Linked DNA regions of Homo sapiens: regions 1 and 2 are each linked to region 3. The links are contacts of gene promoters, found by promoter capture Hi-C in blood cells and fetal thymus (Javierre and others, 2016). All regions are on one chromosome and are shown on one strand. Each heading gives the region's core, a stretch centred on a gene start or on the middle of the fragment in contact. The rest is flanking DNA. Distances are from core to core; before and after follow the strand shown. Region 1 overlaps SPTBN1 (spectrin beta, non-erythrocytic 1). Region 2 holds the start of SPTBN1-AS1 (SPTBN1 antisense RNA 1). Region 3 holds the start of EML6 (EMAP like 6).

Region 1 (4,602 bases), core at 2,092-4,591, 200 kb after region 3:
TCTCTGCCAATGAGCTTTACATCTTTTTTTTTTTTTTTTACTTTACTGAATACTGAAAAAGAGTATACACTGCAGAGTTAGTATGCCTTCAGCCACTTAGCAGCAGTAAGCCCTTGGGCAAGCTTCTTAATCTCTCTGGAACCTGTTTTATCATCTATACAATGTAGACAGTAATAATCTCTCTCATATGATTGTTATGGGATTAACTGTTAATATATGCCGGCATTTCCCACAGTGCCTGGCACACAGTATAAGTACTATATTGAGTGCTTGCTATTATTATGACTACAGTTACTGAGGGACCTAGGTAAACATCCTAGAAAGGTTAAGACAAATGATGGATACTAAGGACAGCTGGAGGCTCTCCTCTCAAACTGTAGGAAAGACCACATGCAAAGAACAAGGAACTGTTCTGTAGTTTGCAAACAAAATGGTCCTTTAGAAAGGAGATAATACATAGCCTGGAATCAGAAAGTAAGACTCAAGATCAAAGGTAACTGGCCATCACTAGCATACTGGCCTAAAGACTCAAATGAAAATACAAGAAAAAGAGGTGAGAGATTAAAATACAAATCACTTTACTAGCACAAGCCAGGGTCATGATCTCCATAGAGTTCCATGTTAATGAATGATAATGAAGCCCCAATTCTAGAGTGACTGATTAATCATTCATTCAGGCCAGCTCAAGAAAGATCTTTAAATCAACACCACTCAAGAGACAAATTATCCTAAAGCAGCTGAATAGTTTTTCTGTAGTACATTGTTAGCTGTACCCCCAACATCCATTCTCCTCTTCCTCTTTTCTGTTATATTCCAATCTTTCTAGCCAACTTGTTTGGTTGAGACTGACCAAACTTTCACTCTAAGGGGTGCATCCTGTTTAGAAGTTAACAGCACATGAGATTCTCCAACACCAGCGGGAGAAGCACATGATCCAAGTCATGATCAATCACGCCAGTGAGACTGATATATCCGGGCCATGGTAAGCAGAAAAGCATCCTCTTTTCTGCTGGATGTCCATAGTCCAAGGGGGCCAGGGACCTGGGGCAGCCATCTTGGGACTACAGGATGGAGCCTGCTTGTGAACAGAGCCTGCACTAGAAAATAAAGCCAGAGTAGAGAGAAAGAAACTAGATCCTGGTCACACCATTTAAGTCCAGGAGTAAGTCTTGCTTAAAGACTGAATTTGCCTACTGTGTGACCAATAAATCCTCTTTGTCACTTAAACCACTCTGGGTTAGGTTTCCTTTGTCCACAATCAAGATGACTCTAAATGATGCATGCTTCATAATCAGATTCCACTATAAAGGCAACAAAAATGTGAGTTATGTAGTTAGAATTAACAGTAAACTTAACTTCTCAAGTCATGACTTTGATTTACTTGTCACAATTAAAGACATTAGAAAAAAATCATTTGGAATAAACTTCATCTGAAATTTCATTTGAAATCTCAAAGTACAGATGCAGGACCTTGAAAAAACTCGGTTTTGATACTTGGTTTACATATATTCAGTACAGCTGAGTTTTCAGAGCCACAGAACGCTTTCCTGATTTTCAGGGCAATTTTAGGGTAAAACACTCCTCACCCTCACTGGGGCCATGGAGAAAGTGTGCTCTAGGTGTTCACCAGCAACAAGGGAATGAGAAATCACAAAGTAAGGACATGTTCCACGAACTAATGGACCAATGGCAAACTTACTCGTTACTGTATTAAATGTGCCTTTACCAGATTCAGCTTTTGCTTTTCAGATGTAAAATCCTTGCGTGTAATACTAACCCATCTTGGTACAGGTCAGGCCAGTTAATGTATCACAGGCACTAAGTACACAGGTTAATTTGTATATTTTTGAGTATAAGGAATAGTATGCTTTGATATTTTGGAATGTAAGATTTGTCAAAAATAAAAGAATTCTTACAAACTTAGGGCAGCTGTTCTTGAATTGCTATAAATAACACTCTGTGCTCTGAATAATTTTGGCCATTAGAGTTGACAGCTCTCCAAATATGGAACTGACTACCTTATAAAATGGTCAGCTGGCTCTCAAGGACACATTTAAATAGAAGTGAGACAACCTTCGAACATGACAGCGTCATGGGAACAGGGTGGATGATTTTAAGGGGCATCCTGATTTTAGGCATCCTGGGCCTCTGTGACAGGTGTGAAGGACTCACCTGCCAGAGCCTTGATGCGGGACCGCTCAAAAAGCCGCGCAGAGCTGTTCTCATTGTCCCAGTCGTCGACATCCCAGCGGTTGTTGACATCACTGTACTGCTGCTGGATCTCAATGTTGTCATAGTCTGTGGCTACTGTGGTCGTCATCTTGAACTGTCTCAGCTGCTCCTCCACATCAGCTCCTTCTTAGAGTTCTATGAGAAAGAAAAGGAAAAACATTTAGACGTCTGAAGTGTATACAGTCCCCACGGAACCAACTGGGATAAGAGTGAGCAGAAAATAAAAACAGTGCTTGCCAAGAATAGGTCTTCTGGAGCAATGCTGGTTTTAGGTTTTAGCACTGTCTCATAATAGATGTGTGACCTTAGCCAAGTTACTTAGTATCTCTAAGCCTCAGTTTCCCCAACCATTAAAGAGGGAAGATACTTCAGAGGTTGTTGACAGGACTGAATGAGATGATGGATACCCCCAAAATGGTGGGTTTATTCCTTCTTTCTAAAGTTTAAACTCTGCAATTTAAAAATGTTATCAGAGGGCCAGGTGCAGTGGCTCACGCCTGTAATTCCAGCACTTTAGGAGGCCGAGGTGGGCAGATCACCTGAGGTCAGGAGTTCGAGGCCAGCCTGGCCAACATGGTGAAAACCCGTCTCTACCAAAGATACAAAAATTAGCTGGGCGTGGTGGCACATGCCTGTAATCCCAGCTACTTGGGTGGCTGAGGCAGGGAGAATTGCTCGAATCTGGGAGGCGGAGGTTGTAGTGAGCCGATATCGTGCCATTGCACTCTTGCCTGGGCAACAGAGCGAGACTCCGTCTCAAAAAGAAAAAAAAAGAAATGTTATCGGAGGTAGATCAACACCTACGTGGGGCTTCTGAATGAACTCATTTATTCCCATTGTGTATCACCATAAATTATAATCTTTAAGCTTCTCCTGGAAATTCATAAAATGTTATATAAGAGAACTAGCAGATCATTTTATCTAAACATCTCACTTACATATTAGAAAACTGATGCTTAAGATTAAGATGTAAGGCCAGGCACAGTGACTCACGCCTCTAATCCCAGCACTTTGGGAGGCTGAGGCGGGCGGATCACCTGAGGTCGGGAGTTCCAGTTCAGCCTGACCAACCCATCACTACTAAAAATAAAAAATTAGCTGGGCGTGGTGGCGCATGCCTATAATCCCAGCTACTTGGGAGGCCAAGGCTGGAAAATTGCTTGAACCGAGGAGCCGGAGGTTTTGGTTGAGCCGACATCATACCATTGCACTCTAACCTGGGCAACAGGAGCAAAACTCCAATAAAAAAAAAAAATTAAGATGTAAGTGTATGGCAACCAAGGACAGTACCAGTGCATGGTAGATGCTCAATACACGCTTGCTATTCTTTATCCTGAACTGATAAGCTTTAAACACAGCTTCTCCCTTCAATATAGCTATTATTCACTCATTGAACCAAAATACAATGAAGACTTACTACGTACTCTGTGCTGGACCAGATGCTAGGGATAAAAATGAACGCAATAAGGACCTGGCTCTAGGGAAGCTTATATCCTAGTGGTAGGAGCTGGACAAAAAGCACACAAGAAAAGGCAAGATAGTTTAAATAAAAAAAAATGACAGCAGAGTCATGTGACTATTTTTAGATCTGGTGATCAGGGAAGGCCTCTCGAGTGGGTCCTGAAACTGAGAACTCAATGTCAAGAGGAATGAGTCACGCACAGATCAAGAATAATAGTGTTTCAGGCAAAGGAAGCAGCATAGCATGCAGGAGGAACGGCAAGTTCAATGTGGCTGAGTCTAGTGGGCAGCGGGAGAGACTCGGAGACAAGGTTAGGGAGGGAGGTGGGCGAGCCCAAGTGTGGCGGGAAGCAACTGCAGGATTTTAAGCTAATAACCGACACCACCCTTGAGTGTATTTGTAAAATATTCTTCCCAGGGCTGTGTGGAAAACAGATTCTAGGCGGCAATAATGGAAGCAGGGGCCACTTGGGAGGCTACTCCAGAAATGATGGCGGTGCAGCTCTGGGTGGAGAAGCGGGGATGGTTAAGAGGTGGATGTGCTTAGAGGTGGATGTGCTTTGGAGGGAGAACTGACAGGGCCTGGTGAAGGACTGACTAGACCCGAGACATTGAGAAACTGAGCTAGTGCTATGCCTGATGCCTATGGGTGTGGTTAAATGTGGTTAAATTCCCGCATATTTTAAATTTCACTGGGGGGAAACAGGCTCAGTCAGGCATATGAAGCTATCTAAGTAAGTTGTTAATCTGCAAATGTAGGAAGAAAGGAGTGAAAAGACAACACCCCTTTTAAAGTGGTATGAAGCTATCCCAAGAAAAAAAATAAATTATCAACATTTTTTTTTTTGAGATGGAGTTTCGCTCTGTCACCCAGGCTGGAGTGCAGTGGCACCATCTCGGCTCACTGCA
Region 2 (4,262 bases), core at 1,208-3,707, 170 kb after region 3:
TCTACTAGGAGGTAAAGTTAGCTAAAAGTAAAGAAAATGTGTGTGCAGCAGTTATCTGACAACCTAGAAAGCCAAAAAGGTGCTGGAGAGACAGGGACTCCAAATGGTAGCTCTTCTGGAGTGGAGTATGAGCAACTGCCTTCCCTAAGTCGTGAATGGGGTGCCCGCAGCCAACCACAGGGTCTGGGGCCGAGCTGTGAAGCCGCCCGTCTTCATTAGGGTCACAAATAAAGCCTCCAAGAACCCCCGTTGGCACCCAGGACAGGCCCGGCCTTTGGGAGGGGGCTTACCTTGCAGCTGCTTGAATCTGCCTTCCAGCTGGTTGTAGTTGTAAGGCACCTGCCCCGTGTACGCCGGCGACAGCGGCCCGGAGATACTAGACGTCCTCTGCAATTCCATTATGCCCGGCGTAACGCCCCGGAGGACTGCGCCCTGGAAATCTCGCTCCAGCCCCCTCCCACTCCCATCCAACACGCAGCAGCCTCCGCAGCGCTCGGCTCCTTAGGCGAGCCCCATTCCGGTCTGCAAGTCCAGCAGGGTGATCTGATGGGAAGTTGGCTGCAAGAGAGTCCACCTTAGCTCCGCGAGGAGTTACCACACAGGCATCTAATTTCTTGCTTTCCCTTCTTCCGTGGCCCTTGCCTGGAAGCTCGAAATAAATTACTGAGGAGGAGGGAGAAGCAGAGAGGAGGCGCAGGTTCTACTTCAGAACTTTTAAATATGGCCAATCCTAAGCATGCCACGGTTGCCGAGCCCGGGAGCTCGCGGGCGCAGCGCGCACACCTCCTCCCAGCTGCCCGCGGCGGCCGCCGGTTTGTAATTTTATCAGGAGCCACTCGCCGTGTGCTGGGCGGTGATGTCACCTGATTAGCATAACAGCATTGTATTAGAAATGCAGGCTATACCACGAGGAGGGGCGCGGGGGAGCCTAGCCGGCCCGCGACCCCCTACCGGTCCCGCACGGTCCGCGGTCGCCCCAGCCGCCCGGCAGCCGCCGACCCCCGGCCGGGCCCTGGACTCGCCGCGGTAGTGCCTTCCCAAACAGAGCTGCTGGAATTACAATCTTTTGTTGAGCCTCATGTAACGGAAAAGTCTCCGATTACTATCACTTGAAAAGGCTAGCGCGCCCACGGGACGGCCTGGAGAGTGAAGAGCCCCAAGGGTCCCGGGCCCGCGCGGCTCATTCACTCTCTAGCGTCTGCTGAGGTAACGCGGCCCGCACCTGGGCGCGCGCGACTGCCCCAGTGCGCTGGCGCCAACCACGCGGCGGCGGCCCGGCGAGCCACCGGGAAGAAGTCAGACAAAGTCACTCTCAGGGCGCTGTGCAGCGCCACAGCCAGGGGAGGTGTAAGTTCGGGCTCAGTGAAGAATCTCGGCTGACTTACGCTGCCATCAGGGGATATGAAGGCGGTGGTTTCCTGGAATAACACGGGCCTATGATAGGAATTCGACGCAAGGAAGATTTATGGGAGCACCGATTTGCAAGGCATTGTGGGAAAAAGGTACACAGGTAAACACCGCCGAGATCCCTGACCTGGAGTTGTTTATGATCCGGAGGGGAGATGAGGGAACCGAAACTACCCTCAAATTCCTACTCTGATTTGTAAAACAAGGCCTCTAAACTTGTGGTTCTCCAAAATTTTAAATCTCTCCTTCCCAGCTTCTTCTCCCACCAATCTCAACCAAAAATGAAATCTTCCACATAGAAAAGAGAATGATCAAAATGTATTCTTGGGAAATTGACTCTAGATCTCCCCCCTCTCTCTCCACCCTCCTGTCCCCCCTTTTTCCTCACTACCTAAACAGGCAGACAACAAATTACACTTTTGGCATTTCCAGTTTGGAGCCCTACAGCAATACTCACTGAAGAAGGTAATTTCATTCCTCAGGGATCCCAATATGTAGTAAAGACGTGGTCCCCCACCCCAGGTTCACCTCAGTCCCCAGGGCACTTGTAATTGAAGTAACTGCATCCTGTCCAGGCTTAGAATTAAACCCAGAGCCTAGCTAACTGCTCAACGCTGAACAACCCCCAACTCCTTCCAGCCACATAACTAGGTTTTTAATACTTCCACATGTCAACCTTTGGCTTTTGAAAGCCAGGCCCAACCTGAAGAAGACAACATTTCTTATCATCTAAGATGTAGAACATTTTTTAAAGCCCCTAAGTGCTGCCAATTCACAATGCTGATGGGAGGCTAGGCAGAGCATTACAAAACACTTGGTCTTGGAAAAAGCACTTGACTAGGATTCCCAAGACCTGAGTTGCTAGTCCTGGCCAAGCCTCTTAATTACCCTATGACCTTAGAAGAAACCCTGGATTCTTTCTAAACCTCAGCTGTCAGACTGAGTAATAATTAATGCCCACCTCCACAGGGTCACTGAGGAGATGATGTGGAAATGTTCTAAAAATTATCATACTTTCAAAATTAAGAGTATATTCTTCAAAATGCACCCCTCCTTTCATCACCCCCCGCCCACACACACAAACACACACACACACACCACATCAAGACTACAAGAGAAGTTGAATTGGGAACCGTCTCAATGAAGATCTTTTTAACAAGCCCTTTTTCACAACTAAGTATACTGGTGAAATGATAAGTCTCTAAGTGTCCAGCTATGGCACTGAAAATGAGATTACAAAGTGCTTTGCCAACTTATAACGTTTTAATCATTGGGCCACTTAATGAAGAAAGGGAGTCACCACTCAGTATCTCCCTTTCAGCTCCCTCTAGTATGGGTTAGTACATGAAATAATTTTTAATTAACCAGGTTGCACATAATATGATGGCAGTAGAGCTGGGACGAACGTAGCCACACTCAATCCTGTGAAGCCAACACTGAATGAACCAGGCAGAGTGAACACATGCAAGTATTAGAAAGGTTTGGACACTGGGGAAGGGTTTAATAACCCCACGGGGATAAGAAGTAAGAAATGGGAATCCATTTGGTGTGATGGGACCAGGGAAGAATAAGACAGATCCCTGATGGCCCATCTGACCACCTCCAGTTCAGAAGTGGGGAGGAGGTAAAGGAAGGCCAGAGGTATTCATTCTTTATTTCTTCAGTGTTTACTGTTCTGTATTTACAGTATTTAATGTGTGCAAGGCACACTGCCAGGTGTTTTAGAAGATTCAGAAGTGACCAGGAGTGTTGCTAGCCAAAGGAAATGGGACAAATGTGCAAACAGTAAAGTACCAAAAGAATATAGTAAGGGCCAGGGGAGGACAGCTCTAAGAATTCAGAGGACAAGGAGGACACATCTGCCTTTTGGAGAAAGGTAGGTGGGAAGAACTCTAGGAGGGACTGGCATTTTGATCAAACCTTGAAACACAGGTAGACATCAACAGGCTGGAACAAGGGAGAAGCCTCCTCTCAAGCAGCACAGTAAAAGCATGGATGCCCAGGAAACAGCACCAGCAAGTGCTGCAGTTTGGCTGGAGGATAAGGAACCGTCAGGCTGGGAGGAAAGCCCCGAAAAGCAAGTTAGAACTAAGCCTGGTCTGGAGCCACTGGAGACTTTTGAGCCAGGGGAGTAGAGGGTGTGGGCTGGACTCTAGAGATGATTAATCTGGAAGTGGTATGTAAGAATGGGCAGAAAGGAGAGGAAATGAAGGCAGCAAGGTCAACTGGGTGGTTAGTGCAACAGTCCAGGTCAAAGGAGCAATCAAATGAAAAAGAATGGGCTGACGTAAAAATTAATCCAAAGGACTTTGGTAACTAACTGTATGTGGGAGGATCAAAGGAAAGGGACAAAGAAGACTCTCAGGGTTTTACATCTGGCTAGAGGGGTGCAGGGGACAAGTGCACATTTCCTTCTAGACAGGTGGAATCTGAGTTACCTGCAATACCACTGGGTGACATGTCTGGAGCAGTCAGGGATGTGGAACTAGAGCTCAAAACTGAAGATACAGTCCTGAGTGCAGAGGTGGGAGTTGAGATAGTTGTGGGGTTAAATCTAGGAAAGGAAGTAAGAGGCAAGGGGCTAAGCATGGAGCCCTGGGGAAGGCCTGGGTTTGGGAGAAAGAAGAAAAACCAGTGGAGATGCCAGGGAGTTGCAGAATGAAAATCTAAGGAGAGAGACTCAAAGAGGAAAGAGGGTAGATGGTCTTAAGTGTTGCAAAACAAACAAACTAAAAAATAAAACTTAGAGAAAAGGCATGTGGTGTGCCAATTAGCAGGTCAACTGGGTTAATAAAAGCAAAAGCTGGGTTACAGGGAGTTAGAAAATAACGAGAAAGGAGGAGGAGGAGGACGAA
Region 3 (4,388 bases), core at 1,430-3,929:
TATTTCATTGTGAAAGACAAACTTAGAGCAAAAGTGGCAATATTCTGAGAATGTAATGGTAGTTGTTCTACATCAATGAAACACACAAGTTTGGAAGGTATAAATATGGTCTCTGTCAGTTGTAGTCCATCCTCAGCAAGTCATTTTCCCTGTGGGCTGAGGCTCCCATATGACGAAAATCTTCCTTAACTGCTGAAGGCTGAAAAGGATTCCCTGTGAACAGCATCTGGCCCATACCTTGTTTGCTCACATAAAAGCTGACAAGGGCTGGAGGAAAATGTGTCTGGTCCAAAGATGAGAGGATAGGGCCAAGAATCACAATATAACCCCTTTCCATTTAATCGGGAGGGCCCCTAAAACGGCCATTCATCCAAATGAGCTCTCCTGTCAGTCAGTCTTGGGCCATCCGCTAGCAGATGTTGGTCATTGTGTGGGCTGGCTGGTAGGATTTTGTGATCCAGCAGCTGCCAGCCTTTAATAACCTCAATGATGCTGTGGAAGCATCCATTTAGTGTATAAATATGCTTTGGGCATTAAAACACTGCCAAGTGAAATATTAGAGAACAAACTCCCCACCCACTGCAGAAATTTCCCAGGTCCAAAGCATCTGAGATGAAGATTCCAAATTACCAGTAGTAAAATTTCTTTTAGATCTTTTTTAATCCTCTTGCTTACTGAGAAACCCACTGAGGAGCCTCCCAAAGATGATGCCCACACTTCAGGTTATTGGTCCTACCGTGCACCTGGTTAGGGAAGGAAGAAGTGTTTCATAGTTACCCAGGCTCCTTCCACTTGTAGCAGGAAAGAACAGCAAGAAAGCATCAGAACACTCAACTCCTTGGAGATTTAAAAGCCAGAATTCCGGAGGGATACAGCGAAAAGACATCTCTCCCTCCTCACCTACACTCCCCACACTGTTTCTGCCCTGGCCCTAGAATCAGCAGCCCTTCAGTAATTCCATGCGGCTCCAGAGAGAATCCTCTATTCCACGGGGCTCCCGGATCCGACCCCAGGTCAACCGCTTCCCACCTTCCCAGCCTCCACACGCAACCCCTCCCCGCCGCCCCTGGCCACCCCCTTACCTGATAATGTCGTCGTTGTGTCCCAGGAAGAATTTTTGGCTGTGCTCGCGGGTGTTGTAAACCACCCCGACCCCAGCCACAAAGTAGACCACCTCCTTGCCTGCCGTGTAGTACAGGTTGTTGCGGCACTGGTGACCCCGGTACCCGTACACCCACTCCAGCCGGAGCTGGCAGCGGGGCGCCGTCCGATCCGCCATGATAAGCCGACCCCGCGCGCCCCCCGCCCCCCCGCGCGCCGGGGCCGTCCTCGCCGAGGCTGGGGCTGCGGCGGACCTGCAGGGGCTCAGCGCGCGGCGCAGGGCGCTGATTTCCGCGGCGACACACAGGCACAGCCCAGCGGGCCGGCCGCCACCATCATCCGCTGCAGCCGCCGCAGACAAGCCGCCGCCGCCGGTGTGCGGCCGCCAGACCCCGCCGGGCGCCGGGCTCCCTCTACCCGGGCAAGGCGGCTCTGGGGGCGCCGGCACCGGCGCGCGCGCCTCACTGCACCTGCGGGCTCCGGCCCCCGGGAGAGGCTCTCGGGGGGGCCACCCCGCCTTTTACATCAGGAATCTGCATATCCCAACAGCGATCACCCAGTTCGCTCACTGAAGTTTGCGGTGCGCCGGGGCTTCGCGGCAGGCGGCGGGATTTATTCTGCGATAGCCTTGATTTGACAGGCAACCCGGGTGAGCTCTGCCATCGCCGTCTTTGGATCCGAAATTGACAGTCTATATCCAGGAAGCGAGAGCGAGGAAGAAAGAAACAGATTTTTCGCATAAGTCACCCAATCCAAGAAAATTATCCCCAAACTAAACCAAGTTGGGTATTTTTAAAAATTGTCCCCTACTCCCGCTTTCTCTCTCCAGTTCCATCTCCTTAATGATATGAAATATGCGTAAATGCTGCTGCCTGGCAGTTGCTGATGCGATTTGAAGGAACGCTTGCTGTTTCCCTAATAAGCGAGGGCGAATATGCAATGGTCATTTTTTAGATGCTCCAATTAGTTTTCATGTGTGTGTTTAATAATCATATCCTCCGTGAACCTTCTCTTCACCGAGAAAGCCATAAAGAACTTAGCAGCTCTCATTGATCAGCAACTCCAATCCGCATCATGAAAGATTGTCTTACTCGGAAGAAACGAGGCACTAGTGCAGTCGGAGGGAGTGCGCTACCTACAAACGCTCCTGGTCGAGGAGAAATCAAATAACAAGTGGCAAAAATCGTGTACTTCTCCCCAGAAACCTCTGCGCTAAACACCGGGTCCCACGGAATCCCGGGTCCTGCCCTGAGCCCAGCGTGGAGAGGGGTCGCCCGAGGGACCCGGGGGACAGCAACCCCCCACAGACGCACACGTCCCGGGGGTCGGCGCGCTGCGCGAGGGATGCCCGCCCTCAGGACTGTTCGGCCCGCGCGCACTGCCGCCCTGGCGGCGCCCTGCACTCCTCCCACTCTCGAACCAGCCTCGCCCGCGGAGCATCCGCGCGCTCTCTGCCTCTAACCTCTGCTGCCAGCGGACGCCACCGGCGCGTCCCGGATCCCGCGCGGGCGAGCGAGCGAAATCCTCTGCCTGCCCTCCCCTCCCCGCCTCCCGCACCCGGGGATGGACTTCGTCACTGGGGCGCCGCGGGAGACAGGTTCTTCCTCCAGCCGGGGCTCCGGGGGCGGGGCCACAACGCCGCGCTAGTGAACCTCAGCTGCCGGTTACTAGGCGAGATCTCGCCGCTTGGAAACAGCGACGCCCCGGAGGACTGGGGCCGCCCCCTCCCTCTGCCTGTCCCTGTGGCCTCTTCCCCCGACGCATCCTGGGAAGTGTAGTCCTCTCTGCGCCGGTTAGGGCGGACAGCGCGCGGAAGGGACCACAAGTCCCAGGATTCCGCGCGCCCAGAGGGAGTCGCAGCGAGACCTGTACCGGCGTCAGCGGAGCCTGCGGCTCTCGGGGTGAGGAGATCCCGGCTCACCAAGGACGATTGCCTGCCCACGCGGGCGTTCCCTTGTGACTGAGGCGGGAGCTGGCGTGCGTGGGTCTCTGTAGAGAAAAGCGGTGGAGTTGGAATGGAGACGGTCTCCCAGCCCACCACTGGAATTTCTCCTTCATCGGTCTCTGAGTGTTGCTGTAACCGACATCCTCACCATGCTGTAACTGACTCAAGCTTAAGTTTGTTTCCTACTTAAGTTTTCCTTTTCATTCACATGGATTTTAATTTGTTAAAGTGCAGTTCTGCCAAGTTTAAGAAAAATGCTGGGAATGTGAGCTCACTTCTGCCCTAAGAACCAGCGTCTTCCCATGACCTGCGTCCTAAATTAGAGGACTTGGGTATTTACAGATAACCGGAGGTTGGAAGCAGGAAGGTGCTCACGCCATGAACAGCTAACCTTGGCCTTCAAACGCAGAAGCTGGTGGCATTTCTCCTAAAACTGCCCGAGATGAACTATGAATCCACTGTGTTCTCAAGTAGCCTATTTCCAATTTAGGGCCATAGCTAGTCTTTGGAAAGAGATTTCAAAATCCCAGTGACTAAGAGGCTGCAAAAGGATGATGGATTGGACGTTTGGAACGTCCTTTCCCTCCCATGCTTTCAGTGTAATCGCTTACTCAGTTCATCTCCCTCAAGTTTTAAGACAACCCTCCGACCTGGTAGGAAAGCTCGAAAGAACTGGAAGTGCCAGAGTTTGGATGATTTGTTGCTGCCCGCAGTAATGAGGATTTGAATTGGTCTCATCTTTGTTTTTAAGGAAACAGAATCAACAAATAAGTGAGATGGCACTGTGCTAGGCAACAAGAACACTGCCAAAAACAAAAACACGGCCTGAGAAAGGTTTGAGATAGAAGCAAAAATATAGTTGATCAATGATGTCGTGCCATAAAACAGTGCCAAATGAATTATATAAAGACAGTAAGTTTTTGTTGTTCTTTTTGTTTTGTTTTGTTTTGAGACAAAACAGGCCGTTGCCCAGGCTAGAATATCGTGATCTTGGCTCACTGCAACCTCCGCCTCCTGGGTTCAAACGATTATCCTGCCTCAGCCTCCTGTGTAGCTGGGATTACAGATACGCACCACCACGCCCAGCTAATTTTTGTATTTTTAGTAGAGACAGGGTTTCGCCCTGTTGGCCAGGCTGGTCTCCAACTCCCGACCTCAGGTGTTCTGCCCGCCTCGGCTTCCCAAATTGCTGGGATTACAGGCATGAGCCACTGTGCCTGGCCAGTAAGTTCTATATAAGAATTCAGAAGAGGAAGAGTTTTTCCAGATAAAATACATCAGGAAAAGTTTCATGGAGGAACTAGGAAATATAGATAGAATTGAGATAAGTAAAGATAAATTG

What was found. The method cuts DNA at HindIII sites, captures the fragments that hold promoters and counts their contacts. A CHiCAGO score of 5 or more calls a contact.
Region 1: a fragment that was not itself captured here is called in contact with the fragment with the promoter of EML6 in region 3 in 1 of 17 cell types (monocytes); the score reaches 5.4 in monocytes.
Region 2: a fragment that was not itself captured here is called in contact with the fragment with the promoter of EML6 in region 3 in 1 of 17 cell types (fetal thymus); the score reaches 5.3 in fetal thymus.

The regions. Positions count from the first base shown.
Region 1 is chr2:54,524,137-54,528,738 of GRCh38, reverse strand. It overlaps SPTBN1 (spectrin beta, non-erythrocytic 1), which reads right to left. Exons shown (of 36, transcript NM_003128.3): 2 at 2,173-2,367. The coding sequence starts at 2,320. The region is part of intron 3 of SPTBN1-AS1 (SPTBN1 antisense RNA 1); the gene reads left to right. Among named protein-coding and RNA genes, the nearest start is that of SPTBN1-AS1, 32 kb to the left of the region's middle. RefSeq lists an enhancer at 3,850-4,019. The HindIII fragment of the contact is 479 bases long and covers 3,102-3,580 here.
Region 2 is chr2:54,554,916-54,559,177 of GRCh38, reverse strand. All of the region lies in intron 2 of SPTBN1 (spectrin beta, non-erythrocytic 1), which reads right to left. SPTBN1-AS1 (SPTBN1 antisense RNA 1) reads left to right here and starts at 473. Exons shown (of 4, transcript NR_185881.1): 1 at 473-1,510. RefSeq lists a silencer at 936-1,075. The HindIII fragment of the contact is 5,081 bases long and covers 1-4,262 here.
Region 3 is chr2:54,721,953-54,726,340 of GRCh38, reverse strand. It overlaps EML6 (EMAP like 6), which reads right to left and starts at 2,679. Exons shown (of 42, transcript NM_001039753.4): 1 at 2,564-2,679; 2 at 1,083-1,792. The coding sequence starts at 1,279. RefSeq lists silencers at 1,476-1,625, 2,297-2,786 and an enhancer at 2,927-3,146. The HindIII fragment of the contact is 5,681 bases long and covers 1-3,216 here.